Regions from separate parts of the Homo sapiens genome. Here region 1 is linked to region 2. Evidence: promoter capture Hi-C in 16 types of primary human blood cells and fetal thymus (Javierre and others, 2016). All regions are on one chromosome and are shown on one strand. Each heading gives the region's core, a stretch centred on a gene start or on the middle of the fragment in contact. The rest is flanking DNA. Distances are from core to core; before and after follow the strand shown.

Region 1 (7,084 bases), core at 86-2,585, 5.1 Mb after region 2:
CCAGTTCCTGTATAGTAGAAGAGGAATATGTCAGAAAGGAAAGTCCATTAAACAGAGAAAAGAGGAGTTATGTACTCTATCTCCCTCCTCTTTCACATCTGAGTTATTCTCTTTAAAGTAACCCAGGGTCTTGCCCAGGCAGGTCTGAAACTCCTGGCCTCAAGTGATCTTCCTGCCTCAGCCTTTTAAAGTGTTGGGATTACAGGCGTGAAACACTGCACCTAGCCGAATTTTACATTTTTAGTTACAAGTAGTTTCTTACTGTTTCTTAATCTCTGAAGGGTACTCCGTGAAGCACAGGCAGAGAGATTGAAACAGTCTGCAGAAAGTAGTGACCTGAAGTGAGAAAAATATGCCCAGAATTGTGTGCCTGTGTGTTTATGTGTGCTTGTGTGTGTGGGCTGGGGTGAGCTGTAAAAAGACAAGCGGCTGCCCTTGGATGGGGGTACAGTCTTGAAGAAGCCGTGGAGCAAGATAAAGTTCTCATTTTTGTACATTAAATCTGTTACTTTTAAGCTAACTGGTACTCTGATGCTCTGATATTTTCTTCTATATCAACTGGAATCCAGTGTTAGAGTAAGACTAGCTTTGATCCAATAGCCACCATTAAAGAGATACATGTTAAACTTGTGCTGCAGGTACATGCCTGTAAAAGGAGAATGAGTCTTCAGGTAGTAGAGCATGTTCTGTGTAATTAAATCTTATTTTTTCCTTGTTAGAGTGCTTGTGCACAGAGCTCGAAAACTAGCTCAACAATACTATCTTGTGTACCAAGAACCCATTCCTACAGCTCAGCTGGTACAGAGAGTAGCTTCTGTGATGCAAGAATATACTCAGTCAGGGTAAGTTGCTTTTTTTACTTGAAATGTGCCATGAATTGTAGGGGGAAGTTATTTTAAAGAGTAGGTATATAAATAGAGTGGGACTTACCATTTCTGTATTTGCTTAACAAGTGGACAGAATCACTATGATGAATATTTCTGATCTTATCTGGCTCTGGAGTATTTATTTAAGGAAAAAAATGTGTTTTCTTGTTGCTTATGTAACAGCAGAAAGCAGCTTCTAGATATACAAAGTTCTTTTGCCAGTGATTAAAACACTTTATGGACAGACAATCATTGCAACTTTAAATTTTTCTTTTTTTTTTTTTTTTTTTTTTTTTTGAGTCAGAGTCTCACTCTGTCGCCCAGGCTGGAGTGCAATGGCATGATCCCGGCTCACTGCAACCTCTGCCTCCTGGGATCAAGCAATTATGCGTCAGCCTCCTGAGTAGCTGGCACCACAGGCGTGCATCACCATGCTTAGCTAATTTTTTTTTTTTTTTTGTATTTTTTTGGTAGAGATGTGGTTTCACTATGTTGGCCAGGCTGGTTTCAAACTCCTGACCTCAAGTGATCTGCCTGTCTTGGCCTCCCAAAGTGTTGGGACTGTGCCTGGCCGCTACTTTCAAATTTATCTTTCTAACCAGAAATGATGGTAAGCACATGATGAAAGCAGCTCTTGGACGTATTCATATTTCTTTTCATTCCCCAGTTTCTTAAGTTTGGGTGTAGATGAGATAGCATATAGGTAGTTGTTGATACGTAAACCTAGTGGAAAAGCTGCATTAACTGAAAGTTGTCATTTTGTAATAGGTAAACCTAGTGGAAAAGCTGCATTAACTGAAAATTGTCATTTTGTAATAGGTAAACCTAGTGGAAAAGCTGCAGTAATTGAAAGTTGTCATTTTGTAATAGGTAAACCTAGTGGAAAAGCTGCATTAACTGAAAGTTGTCATTTTGTAATAGGTAAACCTAGTGGAAAAGCTGCATTAATTGAAAGTTGTCATTTTATTAGGACACTAAATGTTACTACACACTTATTAACCCCAGTGTCTTAGGTAACACTGTTCAATTCAAATTTTTTTTTATTTGGCTACCATTCCTCACTACCATAAAGAGAATTAGTTTTGAATTGATTCATTCAGAAAGGTGTTAAATACTTTCTAAGGAACTTAAAAGTCTAATTCAGTTTGCCTGATAATTTGCTTTATTTGAGAGTACTGATAAATTCTTGAGGATGACTTTAACACCATGAAAATGCCAAGTAATTTTCATTTTCCTCCCTGCAGTGGTGTTCGTCCATTTGGAGTTTCTTTACTTATTTGTGGTTGGAATGAGGGACGACCATATTTATTTCAGTCAGATCCATCTGTAAGTATCATTTAATGTATTTGAGGGATTTGTTAAAAGTGCTCTTTGAATATCTAACAGAAATAGAAGCCATAAAAACTTTACAATTTAGCAGTATTTTCTTCTTTTCTCTTGGGCTTTAGAAAGTATGAGGTTGTGCATTTTTGTGTGTATATTTAAAATTTTGGTAATTTGGTCTTCTGATAAGGAAGCTGTATTAGTTCTACCCTCTTTTGCCATGTTCATTAACTTCATACACTTGGGTGATTTGTTGAAATAGTTATCAAATGTATTTAAACCTGTTACTTCGGGAAATACTGCAATTGAAGATGTGGATCTGGAGGACAGTGTTGTAGTGTTTGCCATCAGTTGAATCTTGGGGCTGACTTGAGTGAGTTTTCCAGCAAAAACATTAATTTATCTTGAATTCAGTGTTTTGCAAAAATGATTGTGTAATTGGTACCTTGGGTAAGTTGTCTGCTCTAATGCAGAAGAATGGTATCTGAATAGAAGGTGTTTGTAATGGATAATACTACTCCACATCTGTCCCATTTGCTATGAGAACCTTAAGACAAAATTCAAGATTAGGAAATGATCTTTCATGTTTTATGGATTATTAGATAATTACAGGTTCACTCAATGCAAACCTTATAATCTACTTTTATAACCTGAGATGGCAAAAGAAAAATATTTTGGTTGTTAATTAAATCAGAAAAATAAGTATTTTGGGAACTTTGATAGTGTTGTTACTCCATCTCTGAGCTTCCAAAGCTAAATGACAGGCCCTCTTATCTTCCTTTCCAGAAGGTAGCAGAAGCCACCATTTCTGGAATCCTGATTTTATCTTTTGTCCTATTTTCCTCTGTTGTGTCTAAAAAACAATTGTTTTCATTTAAAACATATTGGATTATGTTTCTTTTGGTATTTTTTTCTAATGAGATGCTCTCTTTTTAATTCACTAATGATCAAGAGTTGATCACCATTTTTCAGATTTATATGATAGATTTTTAAATCGCTTCAGTCTATTAAACTAAAATACTACTCTTGATTATTTGCTTTAAGTTAACCTCAATTTCTTTTAACTGGATTTTTTACATAATTTTACACTTAATTGCATCATCACCAGCTCATCAGTTTGATGAGTTCTGATATATGTAAATGCCTGAAGAAACCATTACTACAATGAGGATATCAAAAATTTCCAGAACCTCCAAAAGTTTCTTCATGCCTTTTTGGTTTCCATCCTTCTAGCCTTCTTAAAAAATAACCTATTCTGTGACGTTTTCCATTCTAATAATATTCTGTGACCTTCGAAGTTAGAGAACAATTAATAAAGCTAAAAATTAAATGGCAGGGCAATATAATTGTATTTGTGTTTTAAAATATGGTTTTTTACTCTTTCTTTCCTGATTAGGGAGCTTACTTTGCCTGGAAAGCTACAGCAATGGGAAAGAACTATGTGAATGGGAAGACTTTCCTTGAGAAAAGGTAGGCCTACTCATTGTAACTGCATTCTTTAGCAAACTCACTTTATGGTTTTTGGTGCTCTTTAAGTAAATTAATATCATGGGACTAAAGAAACTTGCTATATTACTCTGTATATGAATCTAGTTACAGATAAACCAAAAACTTCTCTCCCTTCTAGTTTCCTAGACTTCAGTATATTAAGTGGTAATTAATATTCATTTCCTAAGGAGTTCTCTTTCTACATTCTATGGTTTCCTAAATGCTTTTGGTTTTTTTACTTTTTACTTCACTTTTTGTGCCATTTCAGGAGGGAAAAAAAAGAACATTGAATCTGGAATAAAACATTTGGGGAGACAAATTTTTAAATGATTTAATGATAACAGTTTACGACAGTAAAAAAAATTGTGAAACCAAATGCCTGGAGTTGAAGGTATATTAAATATTTGATACATGTGCTTGATAAAAAGTGGAGCACTATGTAAAAATCTGTCGGTGCCCAAGTACAAGCTGCTCTTACTTATTTCCAGCTGTATTCTAGTCTCAGTGTTACTGTAGTCCTTCGGGACTCTCCAAGCTTTTGAAGAAGAAAATGTTTTATTTCTTGATATGTAATAGTTGCACATATTTTTGCAGTACATGTGATATTTTGATACCTGTATACAGTGTCAAATCAGGGTAATTGGATATCCATTACCTCAAACATCTGTCTTTTCTTTGTGTTGGGAACATAGCAGATCTTCTAGCTGTTCTGAAATATACAGTAAATTGTTAACGATAATTTCCTGACTGTACTACTGGACACCAGAACTTATTCCTCCTGTCTGACCGTATTTTTAGACCCCTTAACCAACTTCCTTCAGTTCTTCTTCCCTTCTCCCTTCCCAGCCTCTGGTAACCACTGTGCTACTCTCTCCCTCCATGAGATCCACTTTTTTAGCTCCCACATATGAGTGACAACATGCAATATTTATCTTTCTGTGCCTGGCTTATTTTGCTTAACGTAATGACCTCGAGTTCCATCCATGTTGCTGCAAATGACAGGATTTCATTTTTTTATGGCTGAATAATAATAAAAAACTTCGTAACTCCGTTTAACAGATGAGCCTTCACAGTACATTTTTCACGTAACGTTAAGGTTATTAAAAATCTTAGGCCTGGATTTAAATGGTAAACTTAATCTTAGGCTCTTAAAGCACTTTTTCATTTTTCTTTTATATATTAATGAGTCTTCCAAAGATTTCACATTGTTATTACATGATATGTTATGATTTGTTTTATTTTTTGTTTCAGAGGCATTTTATTTAGACAACTAAAAATAATTAGATGTTCAGAACCAGTGTACAATGAAAGAAATTAAACCAGTTACTTTATCATGTATTCCCTCTTTACAACCAAAGCAAAAAACAATAGCAACAAAGACATTCTGCTTTAAGGGAAAAGTCAGACAAATAAGCCAATATATTTTTCTTCTCCATAATGACATAAACAGCTGCAAGAACTCTTAATTGTAATAAGAGAAGTTGGATGTTATCTTGTACATATTCATTAAAAAGATGACAGGCCATTGTACTACAAGAGGATAACTCAACCTCCCTTCATCTGATACTCTTGAGATTTCACTTATGGGTAACACCATGTTAGTTGTTTCAGCAATGGAGCTAATTCATATTCCTCATTATTTATTGCTGTTTTTGCCTTAAGCAGAGAGTAACTCTGGAAGGCTGATGCTTTTCTCTGCTTGCTCGTTCTAGTCCAGTTGTATGCTGTCTGTGGCACATGCTTGATGTTCAGGCCTTAACTTGAGGAGTTGAAGAATAGATGGAATCTGAATTCTCTGAAGCAATTTCTTCTAGCTCTTCTCTTGTCTTTGGAAAACCAATCTTTGGCTTTGCCAGCTCACCAGTATCTTCTTCAGGAAGCACACATTTCCAAAGGCCATATGTTTTTCCTACCACAGTTTGCCAGTCTCAGTGTTCCATCTTCAGAACCACTGGCATAGAGTTCTCCATCAGGATCAAATCTCACACAGTGAATAGGACCAGAGTGTCCTTTGTAGGATTCTAATTCTTCTCCACTATTATCATCATACTTATAAGTTTAACATCTTCACCACCTGCAACAAGAAATTCTTTCTCAAGGTGAAGAGATTCAGAGTTAATGTTTGCAGGAGCTTGAAAGGATTTAATTGGTTCCAAACTTACTGTACTGTCAAAAGCACTGGATCAGCCATAAGTTATTACCAAAATCTCTCCCTCAGAAATATATTCCATACTACTAGCCAACATAATAAAATTTAGAGATTTCACTTCTGTCATAGTAGCATGATCCCAAAGTCTTAACAGTTTTGTCATCAGAAGAAAGAATCTGTTTATCCTCACTGTACCATAGGGCCTTTTTAATATCAGAGCTGTGATCACTAATTTCCTCAGGTTCTGCTTCGGGTTTGTTCAAGTCATATATGCAAAACAGTTTATTCTGTCCCCTGGTTAACAAATAATTACTATCCTGCATGAAATCCATAGTCTTGATAATGTGTTTATGAGCCAGGGTCATCAGTTCATCTCCTGGGATAGCATCCCACACTTTGTGAAATCTGCAGCTGCTGTGGCTGCTTTGGTGGCATCCTTATTCAGTGTTGCATTCCAGACAGCATCTTTATGACCCAAAATTGTTCCAATCCAGTCTCCTGTATCTCCCTGGCATAGCATAGGTTTGCCGTCTTTGCAAGCACTGATTTAGAAATACTCATAAGACTGGCCAGGCGCAGTGGCTCACGCCTGTAATCCCAGCACTTTGGGAGGCCAAGGCAGGCGGATCACCTGAGGTCAGAAGTTCGAGACCAGCTGGGCCAACATGGTGAAACCCCGTCTCTACTAAAAATACAAAAATTAGCCAGGAGTGATAGCGCGCGCCTGTAATCCCAGCTACTCGGGAGGCTGAGGCAGGAGAATCACTTGAACCTGGGAGGCGGAGTTTGCAGTGAGCCAAGATTGCACCACTGCACTCCAGCCTGGGCGACAGAGCAAGATTCTGTCTTGAGGGAAAAAAAAGCCCCTAAGGCATGATGCCACTGAAGGCCAAGTCAGCCACGGGCCATATGTGGCCAGAACAGGTGAGCAGCATCAGTCTCATTGCTATGGAGGTGGTGAACCCAGTGATTGGGCTGGTGGGCTGAGGGTCATCCTTGTCTTTTCTCCTCTGGTACAGCGCCCGGGGTTCCTCCAGGCTTCACCCTAACACGGGCTGAGCAGAGAAAAAGGAAAAGGTGGCACCGAGATTAGGAAGGAGCTAGGGAGGGGCTGGGGAGTCTGGGAAGGGTGAGCAACAGTTGACAATGGAGGGAGGAAAGTAGGGGATGGGGAGAACCGAAGAAACGACCCAGCCACTCTTCGCACCGTCCACACTGGTATCGGCAGGAAGTGACATGTTATGTTTTAACTTATAAG
Region 2 (7,602 bases), core at 590-3,089:
TTTGTATTTTTAGTAGAGACGGGGTTTCATCATGTTGGCCAGGCTGATCTCAGACTCCTGACCTCAGATGATCCACCCGCCTCGGCCTCCCAGAATGCTGGGATTACAGGAGAGAGCCATCCTGCCCTGCCTGTTGGCATAACTTTGAAAGTGATCTATTAAGTTTGGTTTGGCAAACACTCGCATATGACAATGAAGATTAGAATTTTGCTTCATGTTATAGTCTTAAAATAGGCAAAAACTGCAATTTTTGTATTTTGCACCTTTTTATTATTATTACACTTTAAGTTCTAGGGTACATGTGCACAACGTGCAGATTTGTTACATAGGTATGCATGTGCCATGTTGGTGTGCTGCACCCATCAACTCATCATTTACATTAGGTATTTCTCCTAACGCTATCCCTCCCCCAGGCCTCCACCCCCCAACAGGCCCCAGTGTGTGATATTCCCCTCCCTGTGTCCATGTGTTCTCATTGTTCAACTCCCACTTATGAGTGAGAACATGCGGTGTTTGGTTTTCTGTCCTTGTGATATTTTGCTGAGAATGATGGTTTCCAGCTTCATCCATGTCCCTGCAAAGGACATGAACTCATCCTTTTTTATGGCTGCATAGTATTCCATGGTGTATATGTGCCACATTTTCCTTATCCAGTCTATTATTGATGGACATTTGGGATGGTTCCAAGTCTTTGCTATTGTGAATAGTGCCACAATAAACATATGTGTGCATGTGTCTTTGAAAATTATCTGGGCCTGGCGCGGTGGCTCACGCCTATAATCCCAGCACTTTGGGAGGCCGAGGTGGGCAGATCACCTGAGGTCAGGAGTTCGAGACCAGCCTGGCCAACATGGCGAAACCCCGTCTCTACTAATAATACAAAAATTAGCCGGGCATGGTAGCTTGTGCCTGTAATCCCAACTACTTGGGAAGCTGAGGCAGGAGAATCCCTCGAACCCGGGAGGTGGAGGTTGCAGTGGGCCAAGATCACGCCATTGCACTCCAGCCAGGGCGACAGAGCCAGACTCCGTCTCAAAATCATCATCATCATCATCTGCATTATCATTATCTTGATTCTATGTGTCAAGTTAAAGACAAGGTTCTAGTCTATTTGCAAAGGACATTAAAAATAACAATTGTTAACACAGATAATCTTTAGTCTTTGAAAAACCAAATTAGATACAATTGTTGCTTCATTTCCCCCTTTAAAATTTTTCCTTTAAAAAAAATCCTAATGACATTATTTATGCTAATAAGAATTTTATCGGATGTAATAAAGTTCGTCTTGAGGCAAACTGCAGAATTATCACTTAACGTCAGTGTTCTTTAAGCTTCCCGACTTTACCAACTAGCCAGTAATATGTTCAATTTTTTTAGAAGTCATTTGAAACAATTTTCAGAACCTTAATCCACCAAGATGCTTCAATACCAAAGTACCAGTACCGTCATCTGAGGCTGGAGGGTTTAAAGCTGCTCTACCTTAGGTATATTTAAGATAATATTGTTTAACCTTTATAAACGATTAATTTTATTTGGATATTTTAAAATAACACTTGAAATAGGTGTCACAAAATTCTTTCAAAACGTGAATTCTCAGAACAACCTCCCCGAATCTGGGGCTTGAAGCCTCCGCCTCACTAAAAGTAGATCCCACCATTACCCGGCAGCGCGGAGGCATACCCGGAGACTGGGACCCCCACCTCCCCCGGGGCGTGACCTGTGATCCTTGACCCGTGACCCCACCTCCTCTAGGGCGTGACCCCCTAGCCCCACCTCCTCCGGGGCGTGGCCCGGAGATAACCCTGGTAAGAGTCGCGTAGCCCGAGCCGGGCGGAACCACTGTTCGCGCTGCCGTGTTTCCGGGCGGGGACACTCAGGGCGCGACGCTTTTCTGTTACCCACAGAGGCCCGCCGCGGCTGCGCCATCCGCGGCCATGAAGTTTCGGGCCAAGATCGTGGACGGGGCCTGTCTGAACCACTTCACACGTGAGCAGGGAGGCCGGAGAGGAGCGAGGGAGGAACGGAAGGAAGCAGTGAGCGCGCGGTGGGGACCGCGCAGGAGGATCAGAACGGGGATGGGCGCCGGAAGGGGCCGCGGGAGGATGGGGCCGGGATGGGGGTGCTGGTGTAGGCCGCGGGAGGGTGGGGCCGGGAGGGCGCGGGGCGGGTCGGAGGGCACTTGTGGGGATGAAGGCGGCTTTCAAGGGACGTTTCTGAAACTTGATTCCGATCACGTGGCTTTAAAAAAAAGCGGCCACTGCTCCCATAGACGGCTTTATCAGGCATTGACATACCTTCAAGGCCCCATTCGTCCCTCCACCCTGACAGTGCCTAACCTTGCATTTAACTGTGTATTGCAGTACCTAGTAGTCAATAAATCCATGTTGAATGAATGAATGACTGGTAGGTGCCTGTTTTCTTATTTGAACACTGATGATGTGTGCTGTACATCTCCCCTAGTTTGTTGGGAGAATTGCGTGACATCAGGGGTATTAAAGTACTTTCCAGTGTGATACCAACGTTAAGTGGTTATTTTTCCACCGAGAAGTTGATGAACAAGAAATTCTGCAAAATAAGTTGGTCTCTAGGATACATAATGTGCATTTTAGTAATTCCTTATTTTAACCCCTGCTTTAGGAATCAGTAACATGATAGCCAAGCTTGCCAAAACCTGCACCCTCCGCATCAGCCCTGATAAGCTTAACTTCATCCTTTGTGACAAGCTGGCTAATGGAGGAGTGAGCATGTGGTGTGAGCTGGAACAGGTGAGCAAAAGCTTCTGAGAGGCCTGCACACTCTGCAGATTGTCACTGGAAAGATCACATATACCCTCCCTCATCCCTCATTTTTTTTCCCTTAGGAGAACTTCTTCAACGAATTTCAAATGGAGGGTGTCTCTGCAGAAAACAATGAGATTTATTTAGAGCTAACATCGGAAAACTTATCTCGAGCCTTGAAGACTGCCCAGAATGCCAGGGCTTTGAAAATCAAACTGACTAATAAACACTTTCCCTGCCTCACGGTCTCCGTGGAGCTGGTGAGTAGGAGAGTCAGGGTTTCTAACACAGAAGTCTTGGCCTCGAAGGAATAGACATAGTTAGCCTAGCCTTTTTAACAATAAATACTGTTGAAAGCTGTTTGGTTTATTTAAATTTAAAGATCTGGTCCATAACTATATTTTGCATTAGAGTCAGTTCCTCCTCATTTTAAAATTGTGTTGTTATCATATGCATTCAGCTAGAATGCTGCTTTTTCCAAGCCGTGAAACTTCCAGCCTCTCTGTTTCTTGTAGTGGTATTGTCACCTTGTCTAGAAATCATGGTTTCTCTATCCATTTTCACCTTTGACATGTTTTCTCCCCACTCCCACCCTGCCTCATCTGCTATAATAACCTTTAAATGGCCCCTCGTTCTTCAGTACACGTATGTTTTATATGCTACTGCCAGATGAATTTAGTGCACAGCTGTCCTCCAAACACACAAATACACAAACTCATGCGCATACATACAATCCAGAGTTGCTCTTCCTACTCATAGAATGAGGTTCGTATTTCCTTTTTTTTGAGACGGAGTCTCTCTATCACCCAGGCTGGAGTGCAGTGGCGCGATCTCGGCTCACTGCAACCTCCATCTCCCGGGTTCAAGCGATTCTCATGCCTCAGCCTCCTGAGTAGCTGGAATTACAGGCACCCACCACCACACCCAGCTAATTTTTGTATTTTTTTAGTAGAGTCGGGGTATCACCATATTGGCCAGGCTGGTCTCGAACTCCTGACGTCAAGTGATCCACCTACCTCGGCCTCCCAAAGTGCTGCGATTGTAGGCATGAGCCACGGCGCCCAGCCCAGCTTTTCTTCATAACTCTCAACTCTTTGCAGTCAGGCAGTTCTCAGAGCTAATTAGGGCATTTCATGTCACAGTATAAGTTTGGTATGTTTTTTCTATTGCTTAAGGAAAAGCAAGATAGTAACGTATAATACTTTTTGTCCAAAAGTGCAAGATATTTTGGTCTGTGAGTCTCATAGGAGCCCCTAGAAATAAATATAGTTTGCCTTTTAACTGTTAGAAACTGCAGCACTCTGAGTGTCCTATGCCCAAAGAATGGCCTTCTCTTGGTTGCGTCAACATAGCAGGCTTGCTTCTTTCTGCCTCACGGCTTTACATGTGCTGTTTCCCCAGCCTGAAACCCTGTCCCCTTGTTCTTGTCTTCCCATGGCTGCTGCTTCTCCTGCTTTTGGTGGTATCTGAAATGTCACCTCCTCAGTCTAAGGAAACTCCCCCACACTCACCCTGGTCTCTGTGGAGTGCTTTCTCACGGCTATAATGAGCATTTCATACAGTTTCATTTGTTTGCATTTTTATTGATCTGTTTGTTCCACTGGAACACTAAGGACCTTTTTGTCTTATCACCACACTTCCCAGTTCCTGGAAGTACCCAGAGTCTGTTCCATAAATATTGGCACCATCAATATTGGTCGAATGGCTTTTGAGTGAATAAACTGACAGCATTCCACTTAGATTTGGTATTTCAACTTTTTTGTCCCGGGTCTTCGGGTTTGTTTTGTTGTTGCTTAATATTAACAACATAAAAATATTTTTAAATTCTTTTCTTGGCAGTTATCTATGTCAAGCAGTAGCCGCATTGTGACCCATGACATCCCCATAAAGGTGATTCCTAGGAAATTGTGGAAGGACTTACAAGAACCGGTGGTCCCAGATCCTGATGTAGGTGATGCCTGCAGTCCTGCTGTACACCCCACATTAAATGGCATGACTTGAATTCTCTAGTTTTAGTTGTAGTCTTGCAGTATATTTTATTTTTAAAGGATACTTAACGAAAACATTAGATTATTTGCCTTTTGTTATTTACATAAAGCATCTTAAAAATGTTGCATATGATAGAAATGTCATGCCATCCTATATGTAGAAAATGTCTCGCTCAGTAACATCACTTAAAACACAAATGATACTTTTGGAGGACAATTAGTATTTATTAGTATTCTTGGCCTTAGACACCAATTTGGGTTTCACAGGACTTGATCTTTTCCTCAGCCGGTCAGGAGCGATATCTGGATGTGCACGAAAGCCAAGAAGAGAAGAATTTCATGGCTTAGGGCTAACATGGGGTAACGGTCATGCCGATGGTTAACCCTAGAGCTCCTGAAAGTAAAGATGATGCCAAAGGGCCCATTTCCTCTTGCTCACAATTTGTTTAAGAAGAAAGTACAGAAATATGCTGGGTAAAATAATTACTTGACTTTTACTAGATGGCACCTACACTGATTTTGAAAAAGCCTGTGTTTTATAGAGCACTCTTGGTAACAGTCTCAGATGTGATGCAGTGACTGTCTGCCATGTTTTTGTACAGAGCATGGAAAAGGCCCTTGAATCATAGGTGTAAATGTCCCTTAGAGGAGGGCCTCCTGCTGATTGCCTGAGTTATATTCCCCCTGGACCAATATAGGGGCATCTCAGCTGAAGTACCCTATTCCTTCTTGAGCCAAAAGAATGCCCACAGGGACATGGTTGCTGAGGTAACCAGAGGCAGGCATTCCATTCTTTAATTTTGCTTGAGCATCCTTGAGTTAGTGAAATAGAATTGGTTTTCTTTTTATATTTTTAAAAGAACTTTATTCAGAAAATTGTAAAATAGTATCCCATAGTTTTTGAGCATGCATGTGTTCTAGAGTTAGTTATGGGGCCCTTGTCATTACTAGAGTATATTAATATTTTTAATACTTGTGCTTTTTTCTCATTGGTTTTGTAGGTTAGTATTTATTTACCAGTCTTGAAGACTATGAAGAGTGTTGTGGAAAAAATGAAAAACATCAGCAATCACCTTGTAAGTCACAACTTCTTTAGAAAAGAACTCTGAAGTATTTGGTGGGACGGCGTGGGTTCTCCAGCTCACCCTGCAGCAGTCCATGCAGGTGGGCACCTCCTAACCGAGTTCCCACTTATGAGGACCTGGCCTGGTGCTGAGAACCTGCAGATTGCTAGTTGGATTTAGAAACCTATTCCAATACTTTTCAACTCTAATTCTTTGAGGAAAGCTTTTATATTTGCCTTTAATCTGCCTGTTTTTCCTCTTATATTTTGTATGAAACATTGTATCTTTCTTTTTTTTTTTTTTTTTTGAGACAGAGTCTCACTCTGTCGCCCAGGCTGGAGTGCAATGGCGCCATCTCACCTCACTGTAAGCTCCGCCTCCCGGGTTCATGCCATTCTCCCACCTCAGCCTCCCGAGTAGCTGGGACTACAGGCGCCTGCCACCATGCCTGGCTAATTTTTTGTTTCGTATTTTTAGTACAGACGGGGTTTCACCGTGTTAGCCAGGATGGTCTCGATCTCCTGACCTCGTGGTCCGCCCGCCTAGGCCTCCCAAAGTACTGGGATTACAGGCGTGAGCCACCGCGCCCGGCTGGAACATTGTATCTTTTACCTGCTAACGTGCCCGTATTTTTCTGTGAGTCACTGATATGACTGACAGTGAGTTTGGAGTTTCCTGTCTGCGTGCCAAGTGTCTTTCAGTGAGCCAGGGACAAAGATATGCCACACCATAGCAGCCTTTATTCCAAGCACACCTCACACCAAGCTAGGGGGCACTTTTATATTTCTGTTTATTTTCTGTTTATTTTGTGGAAGTCTCCTATGGCCACATGGCTCGAAATGTTACAGTGTGTGACAGTGGTGGGAAATGTGTAGGTTATCCTCATTCATACCTGGGGTTATTGTGAATTCTTCCTTCACTCACTGCCCCTCCCTCCTCCCCCTGCTCCCTCCTATCCTGCTCCAAAAAACACCCTTGGTTATGTCCCTGAATCTTCTAAAAACCACTGTCCACCTGATGAAGCATAAACTTTTGATCTTGACAGTGTACCAGGCCACCTTTATAGCCACATCTCTGTTGTATTGCCACACCCTCCCTGCAGAACGAGGCTGGGTTCTGGTATTCCCCCACAATGCCTCTTCTTTTTTGTTCAGTTTCTTTGCCATTTGACACATGGCTTCTTCTCTCCATCTCCCTGGAAGGCACTTAGCCATTCTCATGCTTCATCACAGACCTTTCCCCACCACCCCTCTGGAAGCTCCTCCATGGAGCTGAGCTGTCCAGTGTACATGGTAAATCACCTGCTAAGATCTCTGAAGGTCTCGTGAACCACCAGCTTCTTGATAAAGGAAACCCCATCTTAATCATCTTTGTGTCCCAGCTGCCCAGTGTGGGATTGCCACTCAGTAGGCAGCAATAAGTGTTGCATGGATCTGGAACAAAATTTAGCTTCAAGAGGTCTTTGAAATCACAAAAGTATTTTGAAGCCTAGAAAATGTACATTTGACTGTTTTTTTCTAGAGTTCTGCACACTAAGAGCAATGCTGTCATTGGACCTGGGTAACTCAAAGCTTTTCCTTCATAACTTAATCTATAAAATCTGTTTTCCATGAAGCAGTGTGCACTGTGCTGACGTTGGTGTCACCTGTGACTGCAGTGATGCTGATCCAGTTGTCAGGCTGGCTTCATCTGGGGATACCCTGGGGACTTCCAGAGAAATTCAGAGAGGCCCAGGAGAGAAAAGACAGGGCTGTTAATTGAAGGATGGCATTT

Evidence for each region. Contacts are between HindIII fragments. The CHiCAGO score rates a contact against its expected background, and 5 or more counts as called.
Region 1: a contact is called between a fragment that was not itself captured here and the fragment with the promoter of HUS1 in region 2, in 3 of 17 cell types (total CD4 T cells, fetal thymus and naive B cells). The highest score is 9.1, in total CD4 T cells.

What each region holds. Positions count from the first base shown.
Region 1 is chr7:42,918,433-42,925,516 of GRCh38, reverse strand. It overlaps PSMA2 (proteasome 20S subunit alpha 2), which reads left to right. Exons shown (of 8, transcript NM_002787.5): 4 at 720-842; 5 at 2,111-2,192; 6 at 3,586-3,659. It also overlaps the pseudogene LOC105375252. Among named protein-coding and RNA genes, the nearest start is that of C7orf25, 9.9 kb to the right of the region's middle. The HindIII fragment of the contact is 5,758 bases long and covers 1-4,214 here.
Region 2 is chr7:47,973,852-47,981,453 of GRCh38, reverse strand. It overlaps HUS1 (HUS1 checkpoint clamp component), which reads left to right and starts at 1,839. Exons shown (of 8, transcript NM_004507.4): 1 at 1,839-1,986; 2 at 2,638-2,765; 3 at 2,861-3,037; 4 at 4,617-4,724; 5 at 5,767-5,841. The coding sequence starts at 1,935. RefSeq lists an enhancer at 1,769-2,058 and silencers at 2,129-2,188, 2,269-2,318. The HindIII fragment of the contact is 1,329 bases long and covers 1,334-2,662 here.